Regions from separate parts of the Homo sapiens genome. Here region 2 is linked to region 1. Evidence: promoter capture Hi-C in human tissues and cell types (Jung and others, 2019). All regions are on one chromosome and are shown on one strand. Each heading gives the region's core, a stretch centred on a gene start or on the middle of the fragment in contact. The rest is flanking DNA. Distances are from core to core; before and after follow the strand shown. Region 1 holds the start of EIF2AK4 (eukaryotic translation initiation factor 2 alpha kinase 4). Region 2 overlaps FSIP1 (fibrous sheath interacting protein 1).

Evidence for each region. Contacts are between HindIII fragments. The study calls those that stand out against the background at their distance.
Region 2: a fragment that was not itself captured here is called in contact with the fragment with the promoter of EIF2AK4 in region 1 in 1 of the 25 tissues and cell types used here (IMR-90 fibroblasts).

The regions. Positions count from the first base shown.
Region 1 is chr15:39,932,695-39,936,559 of GRCh38, reverse strand. EIF2AK4 (eukaryotic translation initiation factor 2 alpha kinase 4) reads right to left here and starts at 2,445. Exons shown (of 39, transcript NM_001013703.4): 1 at 2,221-2,445. The coding sequence starts at 2,364. RefSeq lists a silencer at 2,163-2,572 and an enhancer at 2,593-2,732. The HindIII fragment of the contact is 10,364 bases long and covers 1-3,865 here.
Region 2 is chr15:39,615,596-39,619,753 of GRCh38, reverse strand. It overlaps FSIP1 (fibrous sheath interacting protein 1), which reads left to right. Exons shown (of 12, transcript NM_152597.5): 11 at 1,509-2,019. Among named protein-coding and RNA genes, the nearest start is that of THBS1-IT1, 32 kb to the right of the region's middle. RefSeq lists an enhancer at 1,221-2,420. The HindIII fragment of the contact is 4,351 bases long and covers 1-3,745 here.

The DNA.
Region 1 (3,865 bases), core at 1,196-3,695:
GTACCTGTAATCCCAGCTGCTCAGGAGGCTGAGGCACAAGAATCGCTTGAACCTGGGAGGTGGAGGTTGCAGTGAGCCGAGATTGCTCCACCGCACTCCAGCCCGGGCGACAGAGAGAAACTCCCTCTCAATAAAGAGTTTTGGATAAAGGATTTTGGACCTGCATCACTTTTCCCTGGCAAATAGCAGGTGATAATAAGTGCTTGTTGAATGACTAAACTCTGATTCATCCTTGAGACCATCAATTATTTGCCTGCCAGTCCTATGAATGTGTTGAGGCCATTTGCCCGGTGTACAATAGGCCACAGACAGCTATTTAAATTCTTCTGCCTGCCTTCTATAGTTTTTGCTTTGGTTTGTCTAGTATTCCATCTTGTTATGAAAGCCACCAGCTATAAATTCTTGAGGTTATCAATATCCCTACCTAAAAGAAGTTGCTTTTTCTCTTCCATTTTTCTGCAGCCCTAGGAGCAGACAACTAAGCTTGTATAAAGTAAACAAACTAGTTCAGAATGAAGCCTTAGGAGCTTTGTGTTGAGTCCCATGTACACTTTGAGACACCTATTTTGGCTGCTTCTTGGGCCTACTTCCTGATTCTCAAGGTTTGGGAAGATAGAAGTTCCCCAGTCACCAACTTCTCTGTCATGTTAAGGGGAATAATTTATATTTTTACCATTTCAGGTTAAAAATAACTTCATATTATTAAGCATTAGAAAAGTAAGCTCCCTGAGGGCAAGGATTTTTGTCTGTTTTGCCCACAGCTGTATTCCTAATGCCTAAAACAAATATTTAATGAAGGAAGAAGCACCCTGAGTTTGAGAGAGAATATTTTGTCCTGATAGCTCCAGAAGATGGTATTTCTTGAGGAAATCCTGGATGTGTAGATAGAGCAGATGTTGTGAAATGCCAAAGTTAAAAGCAGATGAAGAGGCCAGGCGCGGTGGCCCACACCTGTAATCCCAGCACTTTCAGAGGCCAAGGTGAGAGGATTGCATGAGCTCAGGAACTTGATACCAGCCCGGGCAACAGAGCAAGACTCTGTCTCTACAAAAAATTAAAAAAATTAACCAGGTGTAGTGGCATGTGCCTGTAGTCCCAGGTACTTGACAGGCTGAGGCAGAAGGATTGCTTGAGAATAAGCTGCAGTGAGCCGTGGTCATGCCTCTGCACTCCAGCTTGGGAGACAGAGCAAGACCCTGTCTCAAAAAGAAAAAAAAAAAAAGCAGATGAAGTTAGAACTATGTTTTAAATGATAATATGATAATATTCAGAAATAGTTTGGTAGATCAACTCTTCAAGGATGGGGAAAAAACTGTCAGTATAAATACTTTATAACGTGCCTTAATTTCCAGACAAAAAGGCAAAATATTATTTTAAACAAAATGCCATTTTAAAAGGTCTAGAGCTAGAGCAAGCTGGTCTAACCCGAGGCCCATGGGCCGCTTTGAATGTGGCCCAACACGCATTCGTAAACTTTCTTAAAACATTGAGGTTTTTTTGCGAATTTTTTTTTTCTTTTAGGTCATCAGCTATCCTTAGTGTTAGTGTATTTTGTGTGTGGCCCAGGGAAGCCAAAAGATTGGACACTCCTTCTCTAGACTCAGTCTAGAACCCTCTCTCTACTACAGCTAAGATGAATGTGTGCTTTATTCTGAGCTAAATGTCTTAGAGGAAGGTGCAGAGGTATGGAAAGTTCCTCCATACCGGAAAACACAGTGAGGATGCCTGGGGAGTACAGAGGGAATTATGTGGCGTGCAGATTTGAATGCATGGATGAGACTTGAGAATTCTGATTGAGGACGTAAGGCCTGTGCGAGAGCCCAAAAAGCGTTCTCAGAACAAAGTAGCAAGGGGCGCGTATGAATTGCTGTGGTATCATCCGCAAGGGCTTTCAGAGGGGAAAAAGGACAAGGTTGGAAGGAGGCAGTTATGTTATGGGATGTAGGCAGGAATAAGAAGCAGTGCCAGGTAAGAGGGAGGAATCCAGGGGGATTCCTCTGGGGAAATCATGGGGAAAGGACTGTAGAAGAATTCGGCCTAGGTGGGATTCTGCAGACCAGCTGCAGGTGCAAGGACTAAAGTGAGCATGGGTGGAACCTAAGGGATGAAAAGACTGCAGGATCCTAAAGCGGCGGCCCAATCTGGAAGTGTCCGGGCTTTGGCCCAGGGCCCGGGGAGGCCAGGGCACGCCAGCCCGGGCCTGACAAGCCACGTTCCTACCGGTCCGCAAGCGTCCGGCCGCAGGTCTTGGAAGTCCGCGCCGTAAATGGCCTCCAGGGCCTGTAGCTCGTGGTCCTGTCGTTGCGGGTAGCTCTCCGGAGGCTCGTCCCGGCCGCGCCCGGGGGCCCCACGGCCCCCAGCCATGGCAGCGCTGCGCCCAAGGCAGGGCGGCCTTGCCTGGGCGGCGGTGGGCCCCCGGCAGCCTGCGGGGCGGGGCTCCGCGCTGGGGACGGGCTATGGGCGGTGTTCCACGCTGGAAACGGGCTCGTGGGCGGGGTTCCGCGCCGGGGACGGGCCGTAGGCGGAGCTCCGCGCCGGGAGCTAGCTCCGGAGGCTCCAGAAGCCCAGGCGAAGGAAGAAGGCAGGGGGACAGCTTTGCCCACATCCTGCTGGGGGAAGGGGAGCAAAGGAACTCCACGAACTTAAGAAATGAATCACAGATAGGAATGAAAACGCCACATTGTATAGTTTTCACGAAACAAGTATCTTTAACAGAAGTGCTTGCTGGAACTTCTCCACCCTGGCATGGCTAGTGCGGGAAACTCTTTTTTCTTTTTTTTGGCAGAGTTTCGGCTCTTGTTCCCCAGGCTGGAGTGCAGTGGCGCGATCTCGGCTCACTGCAACTTCCGCCTGCCGGGTTCACGCGATTCTCCTGCGTCAGCCTCCAGAGTAGCTGGGACTACAGGCGCGCACCACCACGCCCGGCTAATTTTTCTATTTTTAGTAGAGATGGTGTTTCACCATGTTGGCCAAGATGTTCTCGATCTCCTGACCTTGTGATCCGCCCGCCTCGGCCTTCCAAAGTGCTGGGATTACAGGCATGAGCCACCGCGCCCGGCCGGGAAACTCTTAAAGGGCAGACGTCGATGGGTTCTGAGGTCACTTCTAATTTCACCTTGTACCTTCCCAGAACAAGACTACCGGGAGTAAAAATTGTGACCCCCCCCACCCTCCTTCCTCCCACTTTAGTACCCCCAAACTTATTCTCTGAGCCACAGATTCAACACCCTCATTATGTTCTCTGTCTCTACATTCCCCAGCTTTGGGGATCTCCACTACCACCTTGCAAATTCAATTGAAAACTGTCTTTCCACTCAGGCATCTTTATGAGCTACCTTCCCATGAAGAGAATCATGTTCCCTTCCCAGTTCACTCAGTGTGAATTTAGGGAGTCTTTGTGTTATATCCTGCCTCAAGTCGTCGTTTTTCAAGTTTATAAAATAATAACCTGTCTACCCAGACATTGTTATTGCACTTCATCTTCAGTAACTTACTAATGCTGCATGTCCATTTCGAATAATCCTATTGTACTAACCCAAGTTAGGTTTAAGTGACGTTTCTTCTGTCTACCTTGCTTACTCCTCCACTGTTCACTAAATAATGATTGTGTAAATTCCTTGCTGCCATCTATCCACTCATTTCTGGCCAGATAACACAAATGCACTAGCTTGACCCAAGGCCAATTTAAATCATCATCTTCCCTCTGCTGGAGACCCGTTCCTTCTCCAGTGATCTCTGACTAGGTAAATGGCACCATTCAACTGAGTGTGATTCTGAATTCCCTTTCTCTCAACTCACATCCAAATAGTCACCACTTCTGTCCATCCACTACACTCTAACCCATTGCCACTAACTTAGTTCAGGC
Region 2 (4,158 bases), core at 321-2,820, 320 kb after region 1:
TGTAATTTTACATAAGCAAAGTTTGAAAGTGTGTTTTAGGTATCTAATGTCATAGAAGGACTTCCTTCATTTTCTACTTGACTAGGTTTCCATAGTAGGGTGGAGATAATGCTCCTGATTCTGGATACAGATGGATAAAATACTATATCTGGATTCCTGAAATGCCTAGTGACTAAAAGTAGAATTTGCTAATACATAATTCTAATCCTATTTCTTGCCATATATATTAACCTTAGGGTCAGTCACCTGAATTTTGAATTCCAAATCTCAAATCCTATTTCTTGACATGTATATTAACCTTAGGGTCAGTCACCTGAATTTTGAATTCCAAATAATTACTAAGAATATATTTCCAGACAATTTCTTATTATCCTCATACTCATAGTGACACTTGCCACTGTAAAAACTAGTTTTAATATAGGTAAGTTAAACATAATTTTAAACAATATTTTTTAAACATGGCACAAAATTGTTTTACATATTAGTATTTATTAGTTGCATTAGAAGCTTTACCTAATAGTGGAGAATTAACTATACTAGTATCAGTAATAGCTTTTTATTTCAGTACTTTACATATGCAGAATATTTAGTTATTTTTTACTATGTACCTTCAGAGTAGGCCAATAACATTATTTTACTTTGCTGAAGTAGAAATTAAAGTCATTGAAATTCATGATTAAGTTTTCTTATGGGGACTTCTTGTTCTCAGATAATTCATCCCCCTGTAAAGGAGGATTAGTCTTTTCCTAGATAATCCACATGTAAACCATGGAAGACACTGATTTTTTGGGGAAGTAGACATTTTTTTTTCAGTGTGTTTCACTATATTTTAATCTCATTCCTTTTTGAGATTGTTGCAACTCAAATGTTATGGTATTCAGCTGAAGTCTTGTGGGACATGGCTCTCTACTTTCATTTGATTTTTAAAAATTTATTTCCTGAGAATATTGCTGAAAGAAAAAAAATGTTTTTAAATATTTAAGGTCTTGGTTGAAACACTTAGCCCTGGTAACCTTTACAAGCAGAGATTAAGTATGCATGATCAAATCATTCTCCCCAAATACACCGCCTCTGGAATGCCCCTGGCCTCTGCCTAGACCTGTAGCTTTGCAGCAACGACACATTGCAGGATGCACCACCCTTCACCCTTCCTTTTCTGTCTTCAGCAGTATTGTCCACTGATAGTTGTGGACAGACATGGGAGTGCTGAATCCCCAGAGGTAGGGGTAGTCTGCCTTGTATGCCAATTTTTTTCCCAGTAAGGAATTGGATGGTGGTGGGATTCATGCTGAGGGATGGGTGGGGTCAGAGAAACACCAACCAAAGATTTTGCCAGGATTATGACATTTCCCCTACAGTTTTGGATACTTTACAATGAATTATTTTTCTATTTTTATGTGTTGTGTAAGGGGTTACTTGCATTTATATTTGTATTACTGGATGCCTACCAAAAATAAATGTGTTTACTCAGTCAACTGACTATGTAATCTTTTGGTTTGTTTCATCAGTTAGAGTCCACATCATGTCTCTCTGAAGAACAGTTAAAGTGTCTTCTGGATGAATGCATACTTAAACAAAAATCCATCATTAAACTTTCTTCAGAAAGAAAAAAGGAAGACATTGAGGACGTAACACCTGTGTTCCCCCAGCTTTCCAGGTCCATCATCTCTAAATTGCTAAATGAATCAGAAACAAAGGTCCAGAAAACTGAGGTAGAAGATGCAGATATGCTTGAGAGTGAAGAATGTGAAGCTTCTAAAGGCTACTATCTCACTAAAGCCTTGACTGGACATAACATGTCAGAAGCTCTTGTCACTGAAGCAGAGAATATGAAATGCCTTCAATTTTCCAAGGACGTTATTATTAGTGACACAAAAGACTATTTTATGTCGAAGACTCTTGGCATTGGGAGACTGAAAAGGCCCTCCTTCTTAGATGATCCACTGTATGGTATCAGTGTGAGCCTTTCATCAGAAGACCAACATCTGAAACTCAGTTCTCCAGAGAATACAATAGCAGGTGAGGCTTGGCGAACATGTGTTTTGGTAAATAATTCTTAAAAGCACCTCAATATAAAGGTATTATGGTTTAAATTAGAGTCGGGTAAGAAGGTATGTTTGTAAGTCACAGGTAGCGTCAATAAGAGTATGCAAACATAAAACCTATTTCCCAATGCTCTTATGAAATCAAAGTTGAGGTTAGTACTCTATGAAATACGTTATTCTTGATGGTAATTAATTGTGTCATCCAGAAAATAATGTTGGTTTCACAGGAAAAGAGAAATTAGTTTGAATGGAGAGAAATACTTTGAATAGATTTGCTTAGTATTTCAACTTCAAACTTTAGTATTTTCAAACTTTAGTGATGAAAATTTGTTCTAAGGAATGAATTTAAAATGTAAAACTTGTAACTCATTGTGGTTATATTAGTTTCTGTATGCAAACCTCCTCTCCTGAGCCACTCCTATGTTCTCAGGTGTTTCGTCACGATCTAGTGTTTCATCTTGCAATGGTCATGGTACAGGATACAACAATAACTAGTTTTCGACACAAACAAATATTCAATTATTTATGTTAGAAATCTGTGTAACAATTGGTGAATCTATTTAAATAGATTCAATTTTTACCTCTATTGTAGATTACTCTAAAATATATTGGCTATTACATTTCTATCTATTAATCTATTCCTTATTAAATCTATAATCCATTAACTCTGAACTGAGTCAGATTTCGGTTTTGACTTCCATTTCCTTAGTCACCCAGGAGCAAAATCTGAGTCATCACTGAATTACTTCTCTTTCTTGCTTCCCACTTCCAGTGTTCAGGTGTTGTTTGTTCTATTCCTGCGGTGTCTCTCATGCCCATCCCTTCCTTTCTCTTCCTACAACTTCAACTGGACCAATGCCATAACCCTTCTCCCAGACCTCCCTGCCTCAAGTCTCTCTTCTCTTCCTACCATTGTTGACAACCACTAAACGAATTTCCTTAAAGCACAGCTTTGATAACCACACTTCCTTCTATGGCTCTCCAATGCCTGTTGATCAAAATCAGAATTCCTTAACTTGTTCAGTGTCTCCATGATCTGACCTGAAGTTCTTTTCCTAATCAATCTCTAAGTAGTCACCTAAATGTTATTCAGTGTGTAGCTAATCTGGTCTAATGATTTCGGTGATTTCCTAGCTTCTGCTGTTGTTCAGGCCCTCTTCTTCCCAGAAATGTTCAGGTACCCCTTCAATGGTATTTGAATTCCAACCTTATCCTCTCTGATTGTAGCCTTCCCTGGTCCCCTCTGTTAAGTTTTCTGTCTTCTGTGAATGTCCAAGCACTTTGGTTTCCTATAGGATCACATACACACTCACCTTCTCTTCCTTAAAACTGCATAACATTTTTAAAAACAGAGACTCTATCTTGCAATTCATTGTTACATTTTCCATGGTGTCTAAAGTGCTGCCTTAAGCCAAGTGCCTGTTTAATAAATAAAAGAATTTAAATGTATAACCAGTTTTAGAATAAAACACTGAAAATATGGTTCACATTTATTCTTTACATTACCAATGAAAGTAGGTAATGTTGCTTAAGAATTATGTAAGTCACACATTCTATATAAATATTTGGATTTTTTGTTTCTTACATGAAATTTCGCAAGCTGTAATTTTTAAATTAATATTTTTTAGATTGGCATAATTATATACATTTGTGGGGTAAAGTATGATGATTTGATGTATGTATACAATGTGAGATGAGTAAATTAAGCTAATTTACATTATCTATCACCTCACTTACCATTTTTTTGTGGTAAGACACTTGAAATTTACTCTTAGTTATTTTGAAACATACAATATGTGATTAATGACTGTAGTTACCCTGCTGTGCAATTCATCTCAAAATTTATTCTTCCTAAGTGAAAACTGGTACCCTTTAGCCAACAACTCTCCATTCCCTTTTTCCCCCTCTTCATCCCCCAGCCACTGGTAACTGCCATTCTACTCTCCACTTCCATGAGTTTGACTTTTTTTTTTTTTTTTTGTATTTTTAGTAGAGATGGAGTTTCACTGTGTTAGCCAGGATGGTCTTGATCTCACCTCTTGATCTGCCCACCTCGGCCTCCCAAAGTACTGGGATTACAGGCGTGAGCCACCACACCCAGTCTCTTTCATCT